Regions from separate parts of the Homo sapiens genome. Here all the other regions are linked to region 5. Evidence: promoter capture Hi-C in 16 types of primary human blood cells and fetal thymus (Javierre and others, 2016). All regions are on one chromosome and are shown on one strand. Each heading gives the region's core, a stretch centred on a gene start or on the middle of the fragment in contact. The rest is flanking DNA. Distances are from core to core; before and after follow the strand shown. Region 1 overlaps ABCD3 (ATP binding cassette subfamily D member 3). Region 2 overlaps ABCD3 (ATP binding cassette subfamily D member 3). Region 3 overlaps ABCD3 (ATP binding cassette subfamily D member 3). Region 4 has its middle 10 kb from the start of ABCD3. Region 5 holds the start of SLC44A3 (solute carrier family 44 member 3). Region 6 has its middle 33 kb from the start of ABCD3. Region 7 has its middle 63 kb from the start of ABCD3.

Region 1 (3,889 bases), core at 252-2,751, 370 kb before region 5:
ATTTTTGTATTTTTAATAGAGACAGGGTTTCACCATGTTGGCCAGGCTGTTCTTGAACTCCTGGCCTCAAGTGATCCGCCCGCCTCTGCCTTCCAAAGCACTGGGATCCACCCGTCTGGCCTTCCAAAGTGCTCGGCCTTCCAAAGTGCAGGTGTGAGCCCGCCCAAGTTTGGGTGTCAGTGTTTTACTTGCAGCAAAAATAATGTGGAAGCTTCTTTTACCTGTGTCCTAAAACAGTTAAAGCATTGGAATTATCTGTTCACTGGGGGTTTTGTTAGAACTCCCCGGTAAATCGTTTGGTTTGGTTCTTTTTTGGGGAATAGAAGGGTAGGAGGTGGGCAGCTCTCAGACAACTTTATAATTTCAGTTTTTCAGTCTGTTTTTTCTTCTCTCTGCTAGGTTTGGAAAATTATATTTTTCTTTTTTTTTTTTTTTGAGATGGAGTCTCGCTGTCGCCCAGGTTGGAGTGCAGTGGCGCGATCTCGGCTCACTGCAGGCTCCGCCTCCCGGGTTCACGCCATTCTCCTGCCTCAGCCTTTTGAGTAGCTGGGACTACAGGTGCCCGCCACCTCGCCTGGCTAATTTTTTGTATTTTTAGTAGAGATGGGGTTTCACCTTGTTAGCCAGGATGGTCTCGATCTCCTGACCTCGTGATCCGCCCACCTCGGCCTCCCAAAGTGCTGGGATTACAGGCGTGAGCCACCGCGCCCAGCCGGAAAATTATATTTTTCTAGAAAATTAACCATTTCATTCAGGCTTTCAAATTTCTTTACATAGAGTTGAGATAAGAAGTCTTTTACCTTTTTTTTTTTCAAATTTTATCTATTTTTGTGCTCATTTTTTTTATTTTTTGTGTTTTTGTACTCCTTTTAAAATCAGATTGTCTCGTGATTTATTTTCCAAAGAATCAACTCTTGAATTTTAATGTATTAGTATTTTGTTTTCTAACTCATTAGATTCTGCTTGGGTGGTTTTAAATTTCTTCTGCTTTTTTTTGTTCTTTGTAAACTTTTGGTTGGATGCTTGTATTATTAATCTTTTTTTTTTTCATTTTTTATTGAAATAAGGTTCTGAGCATTGCTTTAGGTGAATTCCACAGGATATATATTTTATATAGATGTATGTGGTCTATATATATATGTATGGGCATGCATATGTGTATGTACTTGGGTATATTCAGTATGTATATACATATACACGTATTTGATGTGGTTATGGAAATAAATTGAAAGAGGACAGAAACTAATGATAACGAACTCAGAAAACAAGTGAGAATATTATAATAGTTCACATGAGAAATTTTGATGGCCTGAATTGAAATCATAGCAGTAGAAATGGAAAGAGCATAGAGAGAGATTGGAAATGAAGTGTATGAGAAAAGGAAAATAAATATCTTAGAATAATTCGCAGCTTTGTGGTTTGAGTAGCTGGTAGATGAAGGTGTGATCACTGATTTAGGGCTTATGTTCAGTATGGAATAATGGAAGAATAGATTTGGGGTGGAAAGGTGAGTTCAGATATAGACATGTTTGCATTAAATCCTGGTACAGATACCTTATTAAAAATCAGATATTCAAGTCAGGGGCTCGGGAAAGAGGAGGAAGCTAGAGATTTTGAGGGAGGGGGTCAGAGAAAGGGTAGATAGTTGATTTTGTGGTTTGACTGAGGTGGTCTAGGATAGTATCTCTTTGACCTAGAGATAGTAGGTCTAAAGATGCATTACTCAGGGTCTAAATTCTTATAGAACTTACTTTCTTTTTCTTTTTAAGATGAAGTCTTGGTCTGTCACCCAAGCTGGAGTGCAGTGGTGCAATCTTGGCCCACTGCAACCTCTGCCTCCAGGGTTCAAGCCATTCTTCTGCCTCAGCCTCCCGAGTAGCTGGGATTACAGATGTACACCACCATGCCCAGCTAATTTTTATATTTTTAGTAGAGACAGGGTTTTGCCATGTTGGCCAGGCTGGTCTCAAACTCCTGACCTCAAGCGATCCACTAGCCTTGGCCTCCCAAGATGCTGGGATTACAGGCGTGAGCCACCACACCTGGCCTAGAACTTTCTTTATAGAACTAATTTTGTTTTCATTTTGATGATAAATTAAAAATAAATTAATATAAGCATATTCTGGGTTATCTGAATGACTACCATGCTATACAGATTTTAGTGCCAGTATTGTGTTTAAATGGTTGCTAAGTGATCATCTAGAGCCCACATGTATGATAAATCTGCTGTATTGGAACTTATATCAGGTTAATGTGTATTAATGTAAAGTCAAGAAAATCATCTTCAACTTCTGTACTCATACTGAATTGTTTTGCCATTAAAAATATCTTTTATAGTGATAATTTCAGGTGAAAGCTATTTTCATAGAACTTCCTGAGAAACAAATCTCATAAAGAAGTTTTTAAGAAACTTATAAATGAATTTTTTTTTTTTTTTTTGAGACCGAGTTTTGCTCTTATTGCCCAGGCTGGAGTGCGATGGCACGATCTTGGCTCACCACAACCTCCGCCTCCTGGGTTCAAGTGATTCTTCTGCCTCAGCCTCCTGAGTAGCTGGGATTACAGGCATGCACCATCACGCCCGGCTAATTTTGTATTTTTAGTAGAGACGGGGTTTCTCCATGTCAGTCAGGCTGGTCTCAAACTCCCGACTTCAGGTGATCCTCCCACCTTAACCTCCCAAAGTGCTGGGATTATAGATGTAAGCCACTGCACCTGGCAAGAAATTTTAATTGTCACAGACTGATTAAAGAAAATAGGACTTATATGTAGATTATGTGTTCAGGCCAATTGAAGCTTTATAAGATGTCATGGTTCCCTCTGAACAAGGTATTTCATGGAAACTTGGAGAGAGAAAAGTGATGAAGTGATGGGAGAGCTGACTGATCATGTGACTCATTGGTAGGTGTGTGTGTACATGTGTATATATATATTTTTGTGAGCATCGTACTGCATGAATCTCCATTTATCTCTAAGTATCAATTTATAACATTTATTAGTGGTAAGCAGTGTGGCATTTTTATTGAATACTAATTTTTTTATTTTTATGTTGATATACATATACATTGTGAAATGATTACTATTATCAAGCTATAGTCACCATCCTGTACATTAGATCTCCAGAACTTATTCATCTTGCGTGACTGAACTTTGTACCTTTTGACCAACTTTTCCCCATTTCCCCCAACCCCTGAGCCCCTGACAACCACCATTCTATTCTCTGCTTCTATGAGTTTGACTTTTTTAGATTCCACATGTAAGTGAGATTATGCAGAATTTGTCTTTTTGGGCCTGGCTTATTTCATTTAGTATAATGTCCCCCGGTTCATCCATGTTGTTGCAAATGACAGAATTTTTTTTTTTTTTTTTTTTTTTTTTTTTTTTTTTTGGAGACGGAGTCTTGCTCTGTCGCCCAGGCTGGAGTGCAGTGGCACAATCTCAGCTTGCTGCAACCTCTGCCTCCCAGGTTCAAGCCAGTTCTCCTGCCTTAGCCTCCCAAGTAGCTGGGACTACAGGTGCATGCCTCCACACTGGACTATTTTTTTTTTTATTTTAGTAGAGACAGAGTTTCACCGTGTTGCCCAGGCTGGTCTTGAACTCCTGAGCTCAGTCAGTCCTCCCGCCTCGGGCTTCCAAAGTGCTAGGATTACAGGCCTGAGCTGCCACACTTAGCTCCTTTTTTTTTTTTAAGCTGAATTTATTCCATTGTATTTATATACCACATATTCTTTATCCATTGATCTCTCGATGGACATTTAGGTTGATTCCATATCTCTTACTGTTATGAATAATGCTGCAGGGAACGTGAGAGTGCAGATACCTCTTTGAGATACTGATTTCATTTCCTTAGGATCTATACCCAGAAGTGGGAATGCTGGATCATATGGTA
Region 2 (3,655 bases), core at 1,030-3,529, 380 kb before region 5:
CAGCTTTTTTTCCTAAGAAGAGGTTGCTTCCTTTTATTGGGAAATGGTATTTCAAGATCACAATTGGAATTTAGGGATGCTCATTGCTACTAGGTTGGCAGTTGTTTCTAGGCTTTTCTTATGGACAGAGCCACGATATGCATACTGACACTTCCAATCCACATACAAGATTTCAAGATTTTTTAAATTATCATCTTCTATTTACATCTGTATCTCCTTGTATCCCAAACTGATAATCCTGATTCTCAAAGACACAGTTGATGGTCAAATTAGAGTATCACGGAAATATTCAGTTGCGTTATCCCACTTTACACACTCAGTGTTCTCCAAATAATAATACAAATATCTCTACTATTAATATGATTACTGAAAATAGTTAAATTTTTTTCACATAGGCTCTTTCCATTCTTCCTTATTTTTTGGTTGTACTGTATCTGTGTTGTCAGAGCATATTGATATAGGCATGCCTCATTTTATTGCACTTTACTTTTTTGTGCTTTGGCGGTAATGTGTTTTTTACAAATTGAAAGTTTGTGGCAACCCTGCATTGAGCAAGTCTATTGAAGCCATTTTACCAACAGCATGTGCTCACTTCATGTCTCTGTATCATATTATGGTAATTCTCGTGATATTTCAAACTTTTTCATTTATCATATCTGTTATGATGATCTGTGATTGGACATCTTTGTTGTTACTATTGTAATTGTTTTGGGGTGCCATGAAATTCAAAAGCTAGGTTTCTTGTGCCAGTTAGCCAAGTTGTGAATGCAAAGGAAAAGTTCTTGAAGGAAAACTGCTCCTTCAGTAAACACAAGAATGATAAGAAACAGCCTTATTGCTGATAGGGAGAAAGTTTGAGTGGTCTGGATAGAAGATCAAACCAGCTGCAACATTCCCTTAAGCTAAAACCTAATCCAGAGCAAGATCCTAACTCTTCAGTTCTGTGAAGGCTGAGAGAGGTGAGGAAGCTGTAGAAGAAAAGTTTGAGATTAGCAAAGGTTGGTTCATGAGGTTTAAGGAAAGCAGCCATCTCTATAATATGAAATTGCGAGGTGAAACAGCAAGTACTGATGTGGAAGCTACAGCAAGTTATCCAGAAGATCTAGCTAAGATAATCGATAAAGGTGGACTATACTAAACTACAGGTTTTCAATGTAGACAAAACAGCTATCTATTGGAGAAGATGCCACCTAGGACTTTCATAGCTAGAGAAGATAAGTAAATGCCTTGCTTCAAAGAACAGTCTGACTCTTTTGTTAGGGGATAATGCAGCAAGCAATTTTAAGTTGAAGCCAATACACATTTACCATAGTGAAAATCCTAGGGCCCTTAAGAATTATGCTAAATTTACTCTGCCTACATGTAAATGGAACAATAAAACCTGGATAGCAGCACGTCTGTTTACAGCATCATTTATTGAATATTTTAATACCACTGTTGGGACCTACTGCTCTGAAAAAAGATTCCTTTCAAAATGTTACTGCTCATTGTCAATGTACCTGGTCACCCAAGAGCTCTAGTGGAGATGTACAAGGAGATTAATGTTGTTTTCATGACTGCTTATACAGCATCCTTTCTGCAGCCCATGGATTAAGGAGTAATTTTGACTTTCAAAGCCTATTATTTAACAAATACATTTTGGAAGGCTGTAGTTTCCATAGATAGTTATCTCTGTGATGGATCTGGGTTAAATAAATAGAAAACCTGGAAAGGATTCAGTACTCTAGGTGCCATTAAGAACATTTGTGGTTCATAGAAGAAGGTCAGAATATCCACATTAATGGGATTTTGGAAGAAGTTATTCCAACCCTCATGGATGACTTTGAGGGGTTCAGGATTTCAGTGGAGGAAGTAACTGATGTGATAGAAATAGCAAGAGAACTAGAAGTGGAATCTGAAGATACAACAGAATTGCTTCAATCTCATAATAAAACTTGAAAGGATGGCCAGGTGTGGTGGCTCACACCTCTAATCCCAGCACTTTGGGAGGCTGAGGCGGGCAGATCACGAGGTCAGGAGATCGAGACCATCCTGGCCAACATGGTGAAACCCCATCTCTACTAAAATACAAAAAATTAGCCGGGTGTGGTGGCATGCGCCTGTAGTCCCAGCTACTTGGGAGGCTGAGACAGGGGAATCGCTTGAACCTGGGAGGCAGAGGTTGCAGTGAGCCGAGATCACATCATTGCACTCCAGCCTGGCAACAGAGCAAGACTCCATCACACACACACACACACATACACACACACACACACACACACACACACACACACACACACACAAACTTGAAAGGATGAAGAGTTGCCTCTTATGCATGAGCAAAGAAAGTGATTTCTTCAGATAGAATCTACTCTTGGTGAAGATGATGTGAACATTGTTAAATGACAACAAAGGATTTACAATATTACATAAACTTGGTTGATGTGACAAGATTTGAGAGGATTGATTGACTCCAAGTTTGAAAGTTCTATTGTGTAAAATGCCATCAAACAGCATAGTATGGCACAGAGAACTCTTTTTGTGAAAGGAAGAGTTAATCACTATGGCAAACTTCAGTGCTGTCTTATTTTAATACATTGCCACAGCCACCCCAGCCTTCAGCAACCACTGCCCTGTTTGTTCAGCAGCCATTAACATGGAGGCAAGACCCTCAACCAGCAAAAGGATGAACATTTTTTAGCAATAAAGTATTTTAAAAACCAAGGTATGTCCATTGATTTTTTTTTTAGACGTAATGTCATTGGATACTTGAGAGACTACACAGTATAGTGTAAACATAACTTCTATGTGCACTGGGAAACCAAAATGTTCACGTGACCCACTTTATTGCCTGTTAGCTTTATTGCTGTGGTCTGGAACTGAATGTGAAGTGTCTTTGAGGGTACACTGCTATGTATTCTTTCCCTTTTAACTCTCATTTATTCCTAGTTCTGCAAGTAAATCCATATTGAGTGCTCACTACCTCTTTTTAGGTCACTGGCTTTATAGTCATTCTTCTTGTCCAGAGCTTGTTCTGTAGTAAATTCCTCAGGAAGAGCTCATGGAACAATAATCTCTGAATTGTTTCATGTTGCAAACAGTTTGTCTGTGACCTTTGTACTTGAAAATTTGTCTGGATGTAAAATCCTAGGTTCACATTTTCTCTTCTTGAATATCTTAAATATGTTACTCTATTGTTTTCTGACACTGAGGGTTGTTAACAAAGTCTGTGGCTAATCTCTTTTGCTTTTCCCTTTTAAATGACTTGGTCTTTTGTGTATCCAAAGGATTTTTTTTTCACATTAAAAAAAAATTCTAGGCTGGGCGCAGTGGCTCATACCTATAATCCCAGCACTTTGGGAGGCTGAGGTGGGCAGATCACTTGAGGTCAGGAGTTTGAGACCAGCCTGGCCAACATGATGAAACCCTGTCTCTACTAAAAATACAAAAATTAGTCAGGTGTGGTGGCATGTGCATGTGGTCCCACCTGCTCAGGAGGCTGATACAGGAGAACGTGGGAGGTAGAGGTTGCAGTGAACTGATTGTGCTGCTGCACTCCAGCCTGGGCAACAGAGCGAGACTCTATCAAAAATAAAAAATACTCTGTTTTGTTTGAATATATGAAATTGTATATTTGTATATAATTTGTATATTTACTTTCATGTTTTATCTGTTG
Region 3 (3,776 bases), core at 729-3,228, 340 kb before region 5:
AGAGTAATTTTAGAGCTTTACAGAAGTTTTCCTAGTGTTAGATTTTGCTTCTTTTGCAACTAATGCATTGCATGTGGTGGTTTGCAGTGGTATCATTGGTCGTAGCAGGAAAGATTTCAAGAGATACTTACTCAACTTCATCGCTGCCATGCCTCTTGTAAGTTTAATTCATTAAAAATCTTTTTAACACGGGAAATTTGCATCTTATTAAAATCTTTAAGGGTTTTACTTATTAAATTCTTTAAAGACTTATGATACTAAGTTCCTATTTTCAGTTTAGTTTTGTAATTTATAATATAATTTTCAATGTAAACCTTCATACTAGATAAAAAAGGGATTATGTTTGGTTTAATTTCATTTATAATGTGTATATATATTCATATACATATGTATGTGGGTGAGGGGTTTTTTGGCATTTTTTTTTTAACCTTCAGTCCAGGTTTTCTTCAGTGTTTAGCATCATCAATGACCATTAGATAGCAGTAGCACCCTTCTCCTAGTTCTAACAACCAGAAATGATTCCAGTCATTGCAAAATGGGTATGGGCAGGGGGCAACTTGGGGAGTTGGGGGGATTTAGAGGGGGGAATGCAAATCATCCTGGTTACTTTAGGCCATAAACTATTACAGTAACTTGAACTACTAATTTACTTTAAGTTAAATTGGAATTTATGGTCTGAATTTTTTACAGATAAATTGTTTAGTCTAAAATATAAGTGATTTTCTTAGGTTGGTTCTCATTTTAATTTTCTTGGCGCTGTAAGAATGTAATATTCTGAATTTGTGGGTAAAAATGAGAAGCTTGGTTGTAAAATCCAGTTATGTTGAAATTGCCAGAAATTCTTGTTTAATAAAGCTGGAAGCTGGGGCTACATAGCTTTTAGACTTTTTAAAATAAACAATTGGAATAAGCAACATAGATATCAAAGATTAAGATTCAGCAAAGACCACTTGAGAAAATTTGTAATGTAACGATGGAAAATGTTAGTAAAGATGGCTCTAGAAATAATCTGGAAAATAGCATTAGTTGGTGTAAAACCTGTAGTGTTTTTTTTTTTTAACAAATGCAAATATAGTGTATATAGAATTCCGTTGTCTAGGGTTGTAGTGCTGATAGTAGGAAACAGAAAATATAAATGTCTGAACTCCTAAAAGCAAGTCTTTACATTGGCTAGAAAGGGGATATATTTGACTTTTTGCCCGTTTACCAAAAAAAATGGGCAAGGTATGTCGCGTAATTAGTGATATTAACATATTCCATGTAAACTTTAACATAGAATAATTCAAACGAGGTACATTTGGTTTAGCTAAATGCAGTAAAGTAAAACAGAACTGAATTATATAAATTTGGACTAAATTATAAAAATTGTAGGATTTGGGACACAGGAAATAATAGAGAAATAAATTATAGTTTAGTAAGCAGAAATGAAAAGCAAAACCAATAATATTTGTTTGTTTGTTTTAGATCTCTCTGGTTAATAACTTCTTGAAGTATGGGTTAAATGAGCTTAAACTGTGCTTCCGAGTAAGGCTCACTAAATACCTCTATGAGGAGTATCTTCAGTAAGTGATAACCTATTTTTATATTAAAAATATTTAAATAGAAGAGTATTTATGAAGCTGATCAATATAGCAGTTTTTCTTATTTATTGTATGTTTTCTAAGAAAACCACTCTTAGGTACAGAAGCATGTTGGGAACAACCTTTCAGTTATTTGGAATCTAGTCCTGGCTCTTCCATTAATTGACAAGTCATCATTTTCTGGACTTGTGTCCTCCTCTCTAAAAATCAGTTAGGGCAATCAATAGGATCTCTTCTGGCTCCAAACTTTTTTGTTTCTATGTATTTGAGCTAGGTGGTGTAATATGATTTTTTTGTTGTTGTTTTATCTTTAAAGTCACTTGTTTTAAAATCACTTTTCTTCTTGCTATTTTAGAGCTTTCACATATTATAAAATGGGGAATCTGGACAACAGAATAGCTAATCCAGACCAGCTGCTTACACAAGATGTAGAAAAATTTTGTAACAGTGTAGTCGATCTGTATTCAAATCTTAGTAAGGTAAGTTTCTCTCCTTTTTAAAAGATTATTTGTTTAATTTTTTGAATTTTGAATCTAAGCAAATTTATATAGAATTGATTTTGTGGACATAACAGCAGCATGTAAATATTTAATGCTTTTATAAGAAAATTAGAGTTGTTGTAATAGTTTTAATTATTTTAATTTTTTCTATTATTTTTGTGAGGTACTTTGGCAAAGAACTGATAATTTAGTGTCTTATAAGGATTTTCTAAGAATTTTGCAGGTTGATTCCATTAAAACAACAGAAATTTGAATTCTCATCTTTTGACCTGTGTGCATCCGGCCATTGTTAGAGATTGACTGTCAATTTATGTTTCTAACTCCACACTTATAACACTAGACTAGGACTTCCTTTCTGCCCATTTCTCTGCTTCAGTATCTTTAATTCTAATAGATCATTAGTAAGTAGTAGTCAAAAAATTTCACAAGATGCAAGTATATTTCAGTTTTCTAATTACTGTTTTTCCCATTCTCCTCAGAATATTGCCAAAGCTCCTGACTGTGATAGGCCTTAGTCAGTTTTCCTTCTTCTCACTGATTTCTCCAGTTCTTATCTTAGTCATGTTATCTCACCACCCTTACAGCTTTTGCTGTAGTCTTCTTATTAAACCCTCTTCTTTGCCATTACCTCTTGCATTGACTATGATATGTAGTAGGCACCTATAAAATAGTCTGCCCAGCATCCCCTCCCCTCTTCATCTGAGATGCTTCAGTTCCCACTCTAACTCATGTGACTTCCCTTGGTGTTGGCTAGGAGCTTGTCTCATACTGGACCAATGATAGTATCTTTGCCTCTGGTCACAGTTGACCTAGATATACAGTTTTGAGACAAAAGAAAACCAAAACTATAAAAAGGACTGGGTCACATTGTAAGAATAGGAATGTTCTTGCTTCAACCAGATGGATGGAGGGAAGGCAATTCTTAGAGATATATATCCACAAGAGCTGCTCTCCTCATGCCCAGGCCCAATGCTTTTCACTTCCAGCCCAACTTTGTTATTTATTTAGCTCTCCAGAAGCCTTTGCTAACTGATCCCAAACTCGGGAACTCTGACAACTACAAATAGTTCAGTAATTAAGCTTTCTTTTCTGTTCCCATTACCACATTTGAAAGTTTGTTCTCTCTCTTTCTCTCTCTCTCTGTCTCTGTGTGTGTATGTGTGTGTGTATGCATGCATGCATGGTGGGAATGGGGGGTGTATCTATACAACTTTCCATGTAATTTTATAGACATTATTATGTATTCTTTAAATCTTGGCACTTGAGCAAGTCTCAGGTTTTGTCAAATCTGGAATACAGAAGAATATTAAATTAAGTACTTGTAGTGGGGCTGTACACCAGTGTGTAAGTTAGATGTTTTAAACATCTAATTGACCTCCAACTTAAATTATGAGTCATTATTTTTGTCATAAGTTTTAACAGTTCTTGAATTTTATAAGTATCTCTAGCTTCTTGATAACTTATAAGGCAAAAAAAAAAAAAAAAAAAAAAAAAAAAGGAAAGGGAAAGGTAGATGTTGAAACAAGCCAGTTAACAAACCAAGCCATCTATCCTAGTAATAATGTGGATTAGAAAGTGCTGGCTGTTGGCCGGGCATAGTGGCTCATCCCTGCAATCACAATACTTTGGGAGGCCAAGGTGGGCAGATCGCTTGAGCCCAGGAGTTCAAGACTATCCTGGGCAACATGGTGAAACC
Region 4 (3,975 bases), core at 1,281-3,780, 410 kb before region 5:
TTTCTGATATCTAGATTACAGAGGTATTTACCCATGTTTTCTTGTTGTACTTGTGTAATTTTATTTTCCACATTTATATCTGTGATCCATGTGGAGTTTATTCCTGTGTATGGTCTGAGGAAGGAATTTAACTTTTTTTCAAATGGTTATCCAGCGATCTCAACACCATTTATTAAAAAAAAAAACAACTATATTTGCCTGAGTGAGAAGGGATATTACCTTTATCATACACTAAATTTTTATATGCACTTGTCTCCATTTCTGGACTTTCCATTCTGTCGATCTGTCTATTCATGTACTAGTACCACACTGTTTTAATGATAGAGTCTTTATAGTATTTTGTTTTGTTTTTTTTTTTTTTTTTACAGTCCAGTGGGTTGTTGTTGTTGTTTTACACTTACTATGCCATGAATTCATAGGGAATAGGTTACAGCAGCTCAGGTTCCTTTCCAGTTTTTCTCACAAAGTGTGCTTCTCTGGGTGGAACAGGCTGGCGCTTCAGTTGAATCCAGGTACCTTTCTCTTTGGCTCCCTTCTTTTTCTGATCATTTTCCTTCTTGCGTTTCAGGAAGCTATCTCAGCTCTTAGAGTATGTAATGATGTAATGTGCTCAGTACACACACTGATTCTCTTGATAAGAATCTTGTCCTTAAAGTATTGGTTTATAGCAATGTCAACAACATCCTGAGAACATCGTAGACTTCCAGTTATGGCATGGTAACACTTGTGCCGTGTTCCTTTTTCAACAAGTGCCCATCTCCTTGATGTTTATGACTTAACTTTTCTGATAGATTTGCATGTATGTGGCCAAAGGAGCAATGCCATGTTTCCTAAAAAGCCTGGAGAACATGTATTGGGTGGCTCTCCTCTTTCTCTTTGTGTTCATCATCTTGGCGAATGACTGAAAGATGGTGGTTACAGCCAAAAGGCTATAGTATGTTTCACTATCTAGTGGGGCTATAACCTGCCTTTTCAGTTGCTCTTTGATGTTTATTTTCCCCTATAAACTTTAGGATGAACTTGTCTACCTTCATAAAAACAACAACAACAACAACAACAACAAAAAACCTCATAGGATTTTTTTCTTAAAATTGCATTAAGCTTATAAATTAGCTTAGGGAGAACTGACATACTGATGATATTGAAACATCCTTTTGTTTTTGTTTTTGTTTTTGAGACGGAGTTTTGCTCTCACTGCCCAGGCTAGAGTGCAATGGCCCGATCTCAGCTCACCGCAACCTCCACCTCCTGGGTTCAAGGGATTCTCCTGCCTCAGCCTCCCGAGTAGCTGGAATTACAAGCATGCACCACCATGCCCGGCTAATTTTGTATTTTTAGTAGAGATGGGGTTTCTCCATATTGGTCAGGCTGGTCTCAAACTCCTGATCTCAGGTGATCCGCCCGCCTCGACCTCCCAAAGCGCTGGGATTACCAAGCACAAGGGGTGTCTTTCTATTTGCTCAAGTCTTCTTTTCTGTGTTTCAGGAATGTTTTGTAATTTTCTTCATATAGGTTTTGCACATTTCTTGTAAGTTTATTCCTAAATATTTTATCTTTTTTGTTTCTATTATAAATGGGGCTTTCTCAACCATTGTATCTTACAACTGGTTGTGATTTGTGTATGTGAATATTATCCAGCTCATCAGGAGCACCAGGCTAGACTAAAAACTGAGGAATCTGGATCTCGAGTTTGTTCTTGGTAGTTATTTTATAATCAATTCATTCCTGCTGCTAAAGCGATGGTCAGCAAACTATAGCCTGTGGACCAAATCTGGCCTACCTTCTGTTTTTGTATGGCCTGCAAGCTAAGAATGGCTTTTACATTTTTAAATGGTCAATAAAGAAACAACAACAAACAAAAAATAATATTTCTTGACATTTGAAAACTACAGGGAATTCGAATTTCAGAGTCCATAAATAAAGTGTTATTGGAACACAGCAATGCCGATTCATTTATATTATTGTCTTTGGCTGTTTTCCTGATACAACGGCAGAGCCGAATAGTGGTGGCTGAGGTTCTCTGGCCCATGAAGCCTGAAATATTTATTACTTGGCCCTTTGCAGAAAAAACGTACAGAACTTTTCCTGAAGGAACTCATTCTCTAAGAGATGCAGAAGTTAAGTAAATAAACCAGTACGATACAGAGCTGTCATTTCTATTATAGAGGAGCAAAGAAGATTTTATTTTGACTTGAGGGTAGAGAAAGATAGAGAAAACATAACAGAAAGCGTTGACTGAGCCAAGTCTTGAAAGACAATATACACCGGGATCAGGGTAGCAGATTAGGTTACTAGAATCAGAATGCAAGGCTGCTGCGATGGCTCATGCCTGTCATTCCAGCACTTTGGGAGGCCAAGGTGGGGGGATCACTTGAGGTGAGGAGTTTAAGACCAGCTTGGCCAACATGGTGAAACCCCATCTCTACTAAAAAAATCCAAAAAAAAAAAAAATTAGCTGGGCGTAGTGGCGGGTGCCTGTAATCCCAGCTACTAGAGAGGCTGAGGCAGGAGAATTGCTTCAACTCAGGAGAAAGAGGTTGCAGTGAGCTGAGATTGCGCCACTGCACTCCAGCCTGGGTGACAGAGCAAGACTCCATCTCAAAAAACAAACAAACAAAAAAATCAGAATGCAAAGAATGGGCAGAGCCTGCCATATGGAGACGATAAATCATCCATATGGCTGGATGAGCAGAAGAGCTAAGCTAGGACCACACTAAGAAAAGCATACTCCCATGCTAAGAAGTTTGGATTTTATTCTTAATGTGATGGAGAGTAGCTGAAGAATTTTAGATGAGAGACTGACATGATCATAATTGTGTATTATAAAAAGAGTTTTCATTGCAATGAAACACAAGGATGGAGGAACTTAAGTCTGGAATCAGGCAGAGAACACAAGGCTTCCTCCTATGTTAAACTGCAATAAGACCCTGATAAAGTCGGCTACCACATTCATGTTGTTATACACTCCTATGCGCTTTCTTTTCCTTATACTAATTCTACCCTTATCAATCTGTTCCTTTTTATAACTTTTAAGGCCTTTTTTCCTGGGGTCCTTTTTACACTGAATCATATATCATCTGGGGGGTGGCAGGAGGGGAGGAAGTAGGGAAGGTTAATGGGTATAAAAAAATAGAAAGAATGAATAAGATCTAGTATTTGCTAGCACAACAGCGTGATTATAGTAAAAAATAATTTAATTGTACATTTGAAAATAACTAAAAGAGTACAATTGGATTGTTTGTAACACAAAGGATAAATGCTTGCAACGATGAATACCACATTTACCCTGAAGTGATTATTATGCATTACATGCTTGTATCAAAATATCTCATGTAACCCATAAACATATACACCTACTATATACCCACAAAAGTTAAAAATTAAAATAAAAATTCATCTTATTTTTTTAACTGTTTTGTATTTCGGTCTTTTCTCCCTAATAAATCACTGATAGATCATTGATACATTTTATAACATAGGCAATTGAGACAATATAGTATGAATTAATTTAGACCCACATTGTATTGTAACCCAATTTACATTTTTCTGATCCTGAAATTTATAATTACCATATACCGTTATATCGGTGAAACTTTACTTATTACAACTTTAAAAAATTATACAAACAGCAATAATAAAGACTCCATTGGCTTTTCATAGCTTTTTATTTTAGAACTTTCTGGCATCATTGTGGCGTTTCTGACACATCAGATTTTAGCAATTTTCCACTCTGGTGGGTAGCACATAGTGGTACAGAATCCAGAATCAGATAGTGGCCAGTTGTCACATGAGGACAGTGGGGAGCAGCATCTCAGCCTGGGCATGGTATTATGCAAAGTTCTATTTCTGAGAAGGAGACTTGATAAGGCTCAGCAAAGTATCCAATCATAGCTGGGTTCAAGGCAACACTTTGGTCCTAAGATGGGAACGGTGCTACTGGAATTAATAACCAGTCAAACTAAGCTTTATCAAGCC
Region 5 (4,038 bases), core at 1,095-3,594:
TGAATGGCACTATTTTAGATCACTGTCCTATCATTTTGGCCTCTCATTCCTGAGTCCCACACCCCTCACAATATTGATATTGTCTATAATTTTAGGTCTGAATCATTATAAATACACTGTTCTTTGTTTTTAGACTTTTGAAAAGAGTTTTTGTAAGTCAGGTTTAATGAAATACAGTTTACATACAATAAAATTCACCTTTTCTAGTGTACAGTTCTACAAATTTTGACAAACAGATACCACTGGGTCATCAGTACCATTCTCAAGATAATGGAATATTTCCATCACTTCAGAAAGTTTCTCCAGATTCCCTTCACCCCCAGCACCTGACAACCATTGATCTATTTTCTGCCTTTTCCAGAATGTCACATAAATGGAATCATAGAGTAGCTTATTATATCTGACTTTTTTTCACTTAACATGCATTTGAGATCATCCATGTTTTTGCATATGTAAGAAGTCTGTTCCTTCTTAATGCTTAGTTGTATTTCATCGTATAGATGCATCACAGTTATGTATAGCCACCCACCAGTTCCTGGACACTTGGGTGGTTCCTGGTCTTTTTTCTAACACAACAATAAATTCAGCCTAAATATTTGGCCACTCTCATGCTATATCTATTGTATCATCTCCTGAATTTGTTTCTCTTCTTGCTTGATTATGTCCTCCAAGAATGTCATTCAAATGAATCTTTCATAAGAATATTTTTATTATTAATACATTCTCACATTCTAATGACAATATGGCTTAATAGAAAATAAGTTCAAAGTTATGCTTTTAAATACTTACATATAGAAACATTTTGCTTGAGATAAACCTTTTCAATCTGAAGGTTTTTTTCTACCTTGAAATTTATCTCCATTATATCTTCAAATATTTCCCCTTCTCTGTTTTTATATTTCTTCCTTTCTGTTCTAGTTTTACCCTAGATATAAGCTAGAAAATTTACAAATAAGCTAACTTGTTTTTTAAAACATTTTCTACTGCCTCTGGAGGTTTGCTGAAAGTGCTCTTCCAATTACTAATTCATCGTCAGCTGCATCTTTTAGACTATTGCACATTACTAATACGTAGCATCAATATTCATTCTAATTATTATTTTTATGCTTAATATGTTTTAGTTTCATATTTTTTCCTGATTCATATTGCTAATATCATAACTCATTTTAAATAAATTTATCATGCTTATTTAAAAATCTTGGTCCATCTGCTCTACTGATCAGTTTCAGATGGCATATGTTATTCAGTTGTGGTCTTTTAACAGTAGTTGCACTCCTCCAGTGTCTAATTCTTTGTCCTATGAATTCATGTTCCCCTGGGGTTTCACCTACTCTGTCTGATAAACATGCATCCAGGAAGGCCCAGTGAGTTTGCAGTGGGAGGGTGGTGTGAGCCCAGAAGGAAATCGCTGGCACCAGAGAACCACTGTCTATCATTCCCAGTTTCTCCCACTTACCCAGATCTTTCCTCCAGTCAGGTTTCTACCCTTAGGGAGAAGCAGCACCTAAAGGAAGCAATTAACCTAGCAACCCTAAGGGTGGCAGGGGGAAGGGTAGAGGCTTGATTGAGAGGAGGTGGGGGGAGGTCGGCCTGCAGTTTTTTTTGTTTTTCGTTTTTTAAATTCCTCACCCCAACAGTGCTTTTGCGCTGGTCTGACACTACCTGGAAAACTATGCCACCAGTCGCTTCAGTGGACACTACCATTTCAATTGCGAAGTCAGGCAATGATTGTCCTAAGGCAAGGTGGGAGAGAAGTCAGAGTAAACCACCTCGAGAGCGCCGGTCTCCCGGAGTGTCTGGGTTCGACTCCTGCCTCCACAACTTACTGGGTCTCCTCGAACAAGTTGCATCACCAATGGCCGTGCCTCAGTTTCCCTCCTCCGTAGATTAGGAATAACAATAGCAGTGAGAACAGAATCCAGCACACAGTAAATGCTGCTTACCTGTTTGCTATGTGGAATACGCCACTACACTGTTGCTCGGCCCTCAGGAAGGGTCTGCTGAGACTTTCTACTTCCTGCTCAGGGCAGAGGCCGACCACCCGCCCAAGGTCGTGGCGGCGCCGGCTCAGCTTTAGTCGTCAAAGTGCACATCCTGGGAGCCGCTGCCTCGAGGTGGTTGAGGCGAGAGGGCAGGGAAGCGTCTGAGCCTCTTCCTCCCACCAGAGCAGGACCCCAGCTGACAGCGGGTGAGCTGGGCAGAAACCCATGCCGGGAAGAGGCGGACCCAGTGGACCGCAGCGCCCGCAGTCGCCGGGCCAGGCGCAGAGGCGAACGGGAGGCGGCGCTGCACCGTGCCCGCCCCTCCCCGGCCCGGCCCCGGCTCCAGCCCCAGCCCCAGCCCCAGCCCCGGCCCCGGCCCCGGCTCGCGGGCGCTGCGTCTCCGCGTACAGGAGGCGGCGGCGGCTCCCAGTCACCGGCCCCCGCCGGCGAGCGCACGATGCACTGCCTGGGCGCCGAGTACCTGGTAAGCGCTCGCAGCCTCGGCCCTCGGGGGAGGAGCCCCGGGGAAGGGTCGAGTCCCCCGCCTTCACGCACCTTCCCTGCCGGACGCTTCCGCCTTTCCCGCGCCTCGGGGATCCCGCCCCCGCTTAGTACCTTGGGGCCACCTGGCGGGGAGGAACCTGGACCCTGCTCCAGTGCTGGGGCGGAGGCGGGGGAGACGCGGGCCGCGGGGCGCAAACTTGGGGTCGTCCTCAGGTGCACCTCCAGGTAAGCACTTGGCGGCAGGGGGCTTAACATCCGCTCCGCGCAGAGCAGGTGTTTCAAAGGCTGTGTGAAAGAGCTTCAGGTGGCCACGTAAAAAAATAATATTAATTTTAAAAATTTAGAAAAAGATTGGTTACTTTGGCCCCTCTTCGAGTAGATTTGGGTTCGGTTTCCAGGTTGAGTCCACCTGTTTATCTTCTTTTTCTCAACTCTCCCTTTTTCTGGAAGGTTTCTGCAGAAGGAGCCCCTAGGCAAAGGGAGTGGCGACCCCAGATTTATAGGAAATGCACAGATACGGCATGGTTATTCCTGTTCTTTCTCTTTTGGACTGGTTTGGTAAGTGTGGGTGCTTGGTAGGAAAGAGGCCAGAGTGTGTGTGCACGTCTGGAAATAACTCTGTCCCAAATGTAAATCGTAGTTGGTGCTGCAGTGAGAGACTTCTGCCGTTAACCCACAATAAACATCAGTTTGTACTCGGGAGAATTCTTGTCCTAGACTCGCTAGAAAGGCTGTCTTTTTGCTACAGGCCATGTTCTAAGGGGTGACTCCATTAGGAAATGGGAATTAACAGTTTGCAATGTGATTGCTATTTAGTAAGGCCAATGTGTCTCCTTTTACTCTCCGAACTTACTGAACAGAAGTTCTTTTAGCACCTGCCACACCCCCAAATCAAATATTCCTCAAGCTTTTGGTGCACCTTTAACAAAGGAAAAGCCAGGGTAAGCCTAGAAATAAACTGCATTTCCTTTAGCTGAACATCACACACACACGCGCGCGAGAGATATGTTGTGTTTAGCAGCCAACACTGTTAACCATAGCTAACAAGGAATGATTTTTCCCACTCTAATTTCGAGGTATGTATGATTGCTGGTAAACTCCATCAGGCTATGCGGTTATAATCCTGAGAGAGTCTGTTGGAAGCCGAATCTTGCTGCTTTTATACTTATTTTAGAATTGTAGGTAACAGCAGAAAACGTCTCACCCGACATTTTCAAAGGCCACTTTCACGAAATCATCCATGCCAGGATAAGGCATGCTATTTGCTGCATGGTAAATGATTAATTTATAGAGCAGGGTAATAACTACCAGATAGTAATTACCTTTGTTGAAAAGAATTCCATCTGAATAGGCCCTAAAATATCATGTTTGTTCTTTCCAAGTAAGAAAGGCATTTGTTCACTTATGACCCGTTTCACATAGACAGGCTTGGTTACAGGCACAGTGGAAGGTTAGGTCTGAAACACATAATCAGATGTTTTTTGTTGCTTACGTTGGAACTCTCCCCTAGGAGCTGGGAGAGACAGTGCACCTACAATACCTTCTGCTTAAC
Region 6 (3,805 bases), core at 1,078-3,577, 430 kb before region 5:
ATTTGGATTCATGCTACAACGTGTATGAAACGTGAAGACATTATGCCATGTGAAATAAGCCAGACACAAGAGGACAAATACTGTGTGATTCTACTTATATGAAGTATCTAGAATAGTCAAATACATAGTGACAGAAAGCAGAATAGTGGCCAGGAGAGGCTCGGGGAAAGGGGACATTGGGAATCATGGTTTAATGGGTACAGAGTTTCAGTTTGGGATGATCAAAAAAGTTCAGGAGATGAACAGTGGTCAAGATTACAAAACGATGTGAATGTATTTAATTATGCTGAACTGTACACTTAAACAATGATAAGTTATCTAGTATTTTTTACTACATCAAAAAATAGAGTTAAAAAAAAGTGCTCCGAAGAATGTCTGATACATAGTAAGTTCTCTGTATGAGTTATCTGTGGTATCTCTTGCTTACTGATGTTGCTCTTTAACACTTGCATTTTCACTCGGCATTCAGTTTGATGTCATCTCTTCAATTTCGGGGCAAGGATCTCATCATAATTTGCCTTGTCCTTCACAGACCTGACAGTGTACTTTGCATGTAGTTGGACCCTGTAAATCATTGACTGGTAGTGCAAATTCCAAATGGCCTGTTTCATAATGATGTGACCTATGCTGTTACTCCAGTGGAGTTTATCTCAGTGTTTTCTCTGTGGGAGGCTGTTAGCATGGTGACTAAGAGCTAGGATCTGAAGTCAAGCAGATCTGAGTTTAAATTCCAGTTTTGCCGTTTACTAGCTGTGTACCTTTGGAGAAGTCACTCAGTCTGTCTCAGCTTCTATTCAATTGTGACTAGGATCAATAATACCTACTTTCACATAGTTACTGTAATGATTAAAATGAAATAATTATATAATAAAATTAAATAACACATGGCCCATCCTAGGGGCTCAATAAAGGGTAGTTAATATAAACATTTTTTATCCTAGGCAACACTACCACCTTGACTTCAACACTCAGAGAGACAATTTCTGAAACCAGCCTTTTGCTTGTAGTGGGTGCCAATCTCTGCACTACTGTGGATGTTTCTGCAGCAAAGGATAATGTCTTGAGACCCTAACTACTCAGGTGGATTGTGGGACTTAATGTGCTTCCTAGACCCAGCAGAGTCAGATGTACCAGGAAAATTCTAAAAGCCCTAGCAGAGGGAGAAAAGAAGCTTTCTTAACTCAGAGGGAGTTTCCACTTAATGCCGACAGCTACTCTTAGGTGTGAGTGGCGGCTCAGAGGCTGCAGGGGAGGCAATGCTAAGCATAGTTAGAGCAAAAAGGCTGGGCCTTTCTCCAAAGTCCCTAAGAGATGGAGAGAAGAGGAATTACTGGCCTACCCAGCCCTAAAGTACACACATGAGGAGCAGATACATTGTTCAAAGGCTGAACCTGTTTTTTTAAAAAAATGATGTCTGGTGTGAATGACTTTGATAGCAGCCAGGAACAGGAAGTAGAGTGGCAGCTGCACAGATGAATCCCCGAGAACTGAGTTTTTCCTGTAGCAGGAACCAGATCTGGGCAGATTAAATCTTGCTCTCTCTGAAACACCTTGGGGAGACTTGTTCCCAGAGTGAAGAATGGGGCATTCTCTTAGCTGACAGAAGGGGCACATGGCCATCCCGAGAGGTGAGTGTTGGGGAACAAATGAGGTTATCTTGGAACTGGCATTCCAGGAAGTCTAGAAAGTGTCCTGAGCAAATAAAATACACTTGTGGACTGGAAGGAGACCTCTGATTTTACAACATGTGAGGAGACTCCAGAATACAAAGCAAAGAGAGAGAGAGCAAGCTGAGAAAAAAGAGGGAGAGCAAAAGTGTCAAGAGAACACACTTGATGTGGAGCAGTTAAGAAGAAAGAGGCCAGAGGACTGTACCCATGCTGTTGCACAGAGCACTTACCACCTGACCAGGAGCCACTGACACCAACCCCTGCCATCTGTTGCCATTTCTCTGGCTGTCATGCACCTGGTGGTACAGAGGTACTCTGTATGTGTCAGCCATGGCCTCAAACACAGATGAGTTCCATTTTCCTGTCCATGGAAAATATGCGTAGCTAATCTTCCAAAGAACTTTACATTTCAAAGCTCCTATGTCTAACTTATGAATCTGCTCTTAATCATTACCCATAGCTTGAGAACTGTCACCCTAACCCAACTTTAAGAGATGTTTATCTGTGTCACTAAAGACATCAATTCTCATAAATGGTGCGGAGATGCATATAGATATATGTCTATATATAGCAGGTTACCAAGTAGAATGTGCAGTGTGTAATCTTAACCATGAAAAAAAAATGCTCAAGAAAAAAAGACTAGAAAGTTAGCTTATAGGAGTTATATTCACTTCCTTCTCGATACCTGATACGTACTATAGTTTCCAAATTTTTAGAAGTGAAGAGATTACTTTTAGAATCTGTTTCTTTCTTTCTTTCTTTCTTTCTTTCTTTCTTTCTTTCTTTCTTTCTTTCTCTCAATATGTTTTATATGTAAGTTTCAAAGAAAAAAAGAAATTTCCCACAGCTGCCAAAGCCACATTTCCCTTCAAAGCAAGATGAACAGCCAAGAACTCCTTTCTCTGGGCCATGGATGGGTAGAAGGGTGGTGGGATTGGCAATGACCATCTATTTCTTAAACAGTGGCCTTGAAGGCCATGATGAGCAACAGGCTTCTTGGAAGAAAGGTGTGATATTAATTCAGGGCTTCCTAAATTATATTTTAATTTCATAATAGAAACAATACGCGTAGAGTTTCAAAAACACATTCTCACACTTTTCAAAGCAAGTGTCAAATTACTAAGATAACCTGGGTTTTAATCTCTTCTATTACACATTATTAGTACCGCTAGACTATCAATTTAATTTGGCATATATTTGCTACTTATTATTTACAAGGCAGTTTGCAGAAATGCAAAGCTGAACTTTAATCCAGTGGAAGGGAAAATACAGGTAGATACATAACAATATCACAAGTCAATATATACAATAAATTTGGCAAAAGGCAGTAAAAATGCTGTAGGATTAGTATAATAACTTTTTATACTTTCTGAATCCTTTGTAGTCAATATGAGAATTATAAATATAACAATTTGAACTTTCTAAGCAGTCAGTTGAGTATTTGATGACTAAAAAACTCCCTGGTCAGAAGGCTGAGGCCAGGAGGATTGCTTGAACCCAAGAGGCGGAGGTTGCAGTGAGCTGAGATTGAGCCACTGCACTCCAGCCTGGGTGACAGAGTAAGACTCCATCTCAAAAGAAAAAATAATAAAATAAAATAAAATTTACTGGGTCAATTAAGATTTTCAATGAGCAGCATTTCTTTTATTCTGTTTAATTTTTAGAATTGTGTCTCTGAGAGACTATGATGATTATTTGGAGCTGCTATAAGAAGTTTAACTATCTCCTTGATTTGTTAACATTTTCTTTTCAGTAGATGTGCTCACAGAGATTATTTAGCTTTGGTTCTGTATTTTGGAACATTTTTTCTATGCGAAGCTTTTCCTGCTAAATATGCTTAAACCTTTATTTCACAATTTACGGAAGGTCTGACACCTTCCCCAGTGTTATTGCCAAGTGCCTGGGTGTGTGTTCTGACTCTGCCATTTGCCACTCTGACACCACTTCACTTTTCTGAGCCTCTATTTAACAACAGGACTTGAGTAGTTTGAAATAGTCCATACCATCATTATTTACTTTGGTTTGGTGGAAACTGGAAGCAGTGATGGTGCCTTAACTGGGGCATTTTTTTAAAAGACACTAACAGGTAACCATTTCCATTTCTATAAGCTCTTGGAGCTCCCTGCTGCATCCCA
Region 7 (3,995 bases), core at 298-2,797, 470 kb before region 5:
CAAAACTCCTAGGCTCAAAGGATTCTCCCATCTTGTCTTCCCAAAGTGCTGGAATTACAGGCATGATGGCCACAGACAGGCTCTTTAAACAGGAAATTACCTCAATGGGTCTCTCCAGGCTCTGCCTCTTGTACTCTCTTGTGCCATCCTCTCTCAGCCTGTTCTTGGTCTTTGTCCACAATAGTTGTAGTGGTCATTATTGGTTGGCTACTCAGTATTCATTCTCTACCATTTTCCCACCCCTTTCATGATGGTTCCTGATGGAACTGCAACACCATTCAGACATTCGCTTATTTCCAAGCAGTGAGAGGAAGCTGATCCCACCCCCAGCTCCAGAGGTGAAATTGATCAGTCTAAGGGAAACTTATTCACTCCCTTTGCCAAAAGACCAATTCTGGCCAATGAGGATTTAGAAGTCTAAGGAGGAAACCCAGGCTGGAGTACAGTGGTGCCATCATGGCTCACTGCAGCCTCGACCTCCGGGGCTCAAGTGACTCTCCAGCCTCAGCCTCCCAAGCAGCTGGGGCCACAGGTATGCATTACCATGCCTGGCTAATTTTTAAATTTTTTTGTAGAGATGAGGTCTCCCTATGTTGCCCAGGCTGGTCTCAAACTACTGGGCTCAAGTGATCCTCTTGCCTCAGCCTCCCAAAGTGCTGGGATTACAGGCATGAGACACTGTGCCAGACTTAACGCTTTTCTTTTAAAAGAAAGCCACAGAAGGAAACATATCCTATCTCATAATGTGATGTTAGGATCTTCTGTAGCCATCTTACTACCAGCCTGAAAACGAAGCCCCCATTTAGGATGGCAGAATGGAGAGATGGCGGCAATGTCATCCTGCTCAGTCAATCAACTGTGGTGCCCACTCTGCCTCTGGGCTTCCTGTTAAGAGAAATATATAATACATTTTCTAAATGTTCGACTCAGTTTGAGTAGAGAATTCTATTACTTGTTAACATACATTGAGCTAAGTTTTGGGCACTCTTCAAGTACCTTAAATAAATCCATGTATTTACAACTTATAAGAAACCTATCAAGTTCACTATTTTCCTCATTTTGCACACAAGAAAACTAAGATACAAGGAGCTTGAATATTTTGCCCAGGTCACACAGCTAGTTAAGGGATAAAGCTAGGGTTGAATCTAGAGCTGGCTCAAAATCCGTAGACTTAACCACTCGTCTATCACTTTGCACCGGGCTGTCACTTGCAACCTAAAGCATTGCAGCTGATACTAACTACACGTTGCTTCTCAAGGCTGCCTCAACCAAGACTTAGGCTTTGGACCTCCTTAGCCTCCAAATCTATTGCTTCAGGCAAGCTTCACTCTCCCATGCCCACCTGCAGGGACCAGGAGTCCAGACATTAACATCTAATGTCATTTCCCATTTGAATACCTAGAAAGGCAGCCAAAAGTTAAACGTGAGTTCTTATTTCATATTCTGTGTATTTTAAGCACCTTGATATGGTCACCCTATTCAAATGACATCTATTGTGTGAGCCAAATCCTGCCTTTCAGGAGAGACCCTCTTAAGGACCTTAAGAACTGGCTGGCAGCAACTGGGAGCTTTTATATTAGTCCTGTTGCCATTGAGGAAATAGACAAGCTCTCCTCAAGCCTGTCTCGGGGACTATGTGATATATATGCATATATTATATACGTAAAACTTAGAGTTCATTGCTACATTTTGATAAGTAAGTAGGCAGACAGTAAATAGGAAGATCAATAATAGACAAATAGATAGACACATCCCCCCACACATATATTTACCAAGCTTATGTTGTGATAGGAAACTCCCGAACCTAGCACAGCTGTATATATTCTTCCTTTGATAATCAGCACTGTTTCCCCCTTCATTGTGTAACATGGGAGTGGGAAGGAACATGATTACCAGACAAGATCAATCAATTTACCTCTGCTCCCCCTGCCCTTCGTCCTGAGCAGTCCCTTCCCCCCTCCTCATTGAGAGTTTTAGGCTGTTGATCACATTCTTCCTAGCCTGTGATTGGAAGAGGATCTGGACTTTGCATAGGAACATTTTAGCAACTTACTTTCCCTGCCAGCCCTCCCATGCTCCACGCCTACCACTATTACCAGTAAATTATTTGGCAAATTTTCAGAATTATTTGAAAAATAATCAAAGCATCTAGGGGACAGGTGAAAGGGATTCTAAATCTGAGGCAGAGGTTATCAGTGGATGGTTCTATTTGATTAAGTCAGGCATGTACTCTTGCTTAATCCTGAGGCAGCATTCTTTCAACACTAATCTGTTTGAAGTCACTTCATAAGGATCAAGAAGAGAAATAATGTTAAATAACCCATTTCTAGATTTATCTGAAAAAGAAGGTGTGTTATCTTGAATGATGTGGAGAGAGGAAGACTTCACATTTGAGAAACTCTAAAATGGTAAAGGATCTAAAGTGTGATAGGATCTCCTTATGTCTAAACATGGAGGACTTGGGTTTTTTCTCCTAAAATGTTTTGTATTATAAACATCTGAAGCTTCCTTTTAAACAGAACTAAAATGAAGCAGATAGTTCAAACTTATCTGAATTTAGAGTGCAAAAAAGTATAATGTCTCTTTTTCAACTCACACTGGGCTTTGAAGATAAAGGTCAGAGGCTTGAGAGGTCTTGTCTTTATGTGAATAGCTAAAGAAGAGGATGCTCACAGAGGACTGGGATTTTTCTTTGTGTGCACTCTAGAAGAAATTTTTTATTTTATATTTTAAAAATTCAAATATTATTTTCTCCAGACCAAAAAAAAAGATATAGAAAAGTGATAATAGGGATGGGGAAAATGCTGGAGGAGCTCCAATTATGAATGGCTTATGTGTTCTGGTAGAATGTTCTGCTCCCTGACAGTCCTCCTGGTTTCTTAATGGAATAGTTCAACACTAAGGAGATGGTCAGGGTGATGTATTTATCTTTTGGAAATACCAATCCTCAATTTATAGATAAACATTTTTAGTTATTCTTATAAATTTTTTGTATGGCATACTATATGATATACTATAGTGCAGTACAGCCTTTCATATTGGTGGTTTCCACATCCACGGATTCAACAAACCGAGGATTAAAAATATTCTGAAAAAAAAAGTCCAGAAAGTTCCAAAAGGCTAAACTTGAATCTGTAGCATGCTGAGCACTGTGTTGAAACCATGAGACTAAAGTGATGTGTAGGCATTGTATTAGGCCCTACAAATAATCCAGAAATCATTTAAAGTATATGGGAGGAAGTGTGTAGGTCATGTGCAAATACAACATCGTTTTATATAAGGAACATCCTTGGACTTTTGGTTTCTGCCGGGGGTCCTGGAACCAAGCCACCACAGATACCAAGGGATGGCTGTATAATAGTATTTTTTTCTGATTTTAAAAGTAATACATTTACTGTTAAAAAAATTTAAAAGTATTCTTCATTCAAACAATAAATATTTTTGAGATCCTATTATATGTAGCCTCTAGGAATGCAATCTCAAACAAAAATAGACATATTCTCTGTTTTCATGGAGTTTAGAATCAAACATAAAGCACACAGAAGAAATGTCATTCACTTATTCATTCAACAGATATTTATTGAGCATCTGTTCTTATAATCATGTGAAAATTGCCTATAATGCCAGTACTTAGAGTTCATGTTAAATTTTTCTTAGTAAGTAGGCAAACAGTAGGTAGGAAAATAGATAAATAGATAGATAGGTAGACAGATAGATAGATAGATGAATGGATAGATGGATGGACAGATGGATGGATAGATAGATAGATAGACAGATGGATAGATAGACAGATAGATAGATAGAGGTAAATAGACAGATAGGTATAGATAGATAGAACTGTATCTTGAACATTTCCTGAGTGAATGAATTGTTGAGTTAGTATAATGAGCCTCATAATCTCAAAGTGAAAATACGCTCATATCATTTTATTTTTTCCAAGAAATTGCCTAAGCACTCATCTGCTGAATAAGCAGGAAGCTCAGTATTTTCCTCCA

What was found. The method cuts DNA at HindIII sites, captures the fragments that hold promoters and counts their contacts. A CHiCAGO score of 5 or more calls a contact.
Region 1: a contact is called between a fragment that was not itself captured here and the fragment with the promoter of SLC44A3 in region 5, in 8 of 17 cell types (neutrophils, M2 macrophages, M1 macrophages and 5 more). The highest score is 10.6, in neutrophils.
Region 2: a fragment that was not itself captured here is called in contact with the fragment with the promoter of SLC44A3 in region 5 in 4 of 17 cell types (neutrophils, monocytes, total B cells and 1 more); the score reaches 9.2 in neutrophils.
Region 3: a contact is called between a fragment that was not itself captured here and the fragment with the promoter of SLC44A3 in region 5, in 16 of 17 cell types (neutrophils, total B cells, M2 macrophages and 13 more). The highest score is 24.8, in neutrophils.
Region 4: a fragment that was not itself captured here is called in contact with the fragment with the promoter of SLC44A3 in region 5 in 1 of 17 cell types (total B cells); the score reaches 5.4 in total B cells.
Region 6: a fragment that was not itself captured here is called in contact with the fragment with the promoter of SLC44A3 in region 5 in 3 of 17 cell types (neutrophils, endothelial precursors and M1 macrophages); the score reaches 6.0 in neutrophils.
Region 7: a fragment that was not itself captured here is called in contact with the fragment with the promoter of SLC44A3 in region 5 in 1 of 17 cell types (M1 macrophages); the score reaches 5.6 in M1 macrophages.

The regions. Positions count from the first base shown.
Region 1 is chr1:94,452,904-94,456,792 of GRCh38, forward strand. All of the region lies in intron 1 of ABCD3 (ATP binding cassette subfamily D member 3), which reads left to right. Among named protein-coding and RNA genes, the nearest start is that of ABCD3, 36 kb to the left of the region's middle. The HindIII fragment of the contact is 2,585 bases long and covers 210-2,794 here.
Region 2 is chr1:94,436,063-94,439,717 of GRCh38, forward strand. All of the region lies in intron 1 of ABCD3 (ATP binding cassette subfamily D member 3), which reads left to right. Among named protein-coding and RNA genes, the nearest start is that of ABCD3, 20 kb to the left of the region's middle. The HindIII fragment of the contact is 5,440 bases long and covers 1-3,655 here.
Region 3 is chr1:94,473,679-94,477,454 of GRCh38, forward strand. It overlaps ABCD3 (ATP binding cassette subfamily D member 3), which reads left to right. Exons shown (of 23, transcript NM_002858.4): 5 at 88-157; 6 at 1,465-1,562; 7 at 1,936-2,059. Among named protein-coding and RNA genes, the nearest start is that of ABCD3, 57 kb to the left of the region's middle. The HindIII fragment of the contact is 2,360 bases long and covers 799-3,158 here.
Region 4 is chr1:94,405,994-94,409,968 of GRCh38, forward strand. It overlaps a transcript of ABCD3 not described here and the pseudogene RPL21P26. Among named protein-coding and RNA genes, the nearest start is that of ABCD3, 10 kb to the right of the region's middle. The HindIII fragment of the contact is 2,862 bases long and covers 1,100-3,961 here.
Region 5 is chr1:94,818,013-94,822,050 of GRCh38, forward strand. It overlaps SLC44A3 (solute carrier family 44 member 3), which reads left to right and starts at 2,345. Exons shown (of 15, transcript NM_001114106.3): 1 at 2,345-2,466; 2 at 2,937-3,044. The coding sequence starts at 2,440. It overlaps SLC44A3-AS1 (SLC44A3 antisense RNA 1), which reads right to left and starts at 2,220. Exons shown (of 6, transcript NR_160780.1): 1 at 1,944-2,220. RefSeq lists a silencer at 2,349-2,538. The HindIII fragment of the contact is 9,215 bases long and covers 1-3,391 here.
Region 6 is chr1:94,383,611-94,387,415 of GRCh38, forward strand. It overlaps a transcript of ABCD3 not described here. Among named protein-coding and RNA genes, the nearest start is that of ABCD3, 33 kb to the right of the region's middle. The HindIII fragment of the contact is 2,317 bases long and covers 1,170-3,486 here.
Region 7 is chr1:94,353,690-94,357,684 of GRCh38, forward strand. No RefSeq gene overlaps it. Among named protein-coding and RNA genes, the nearest start is that of ABCD3, 63 kb to the right of the region's middle. The HindIII fragment of the contact is 454 bases long and covers 1,321-1,774 here.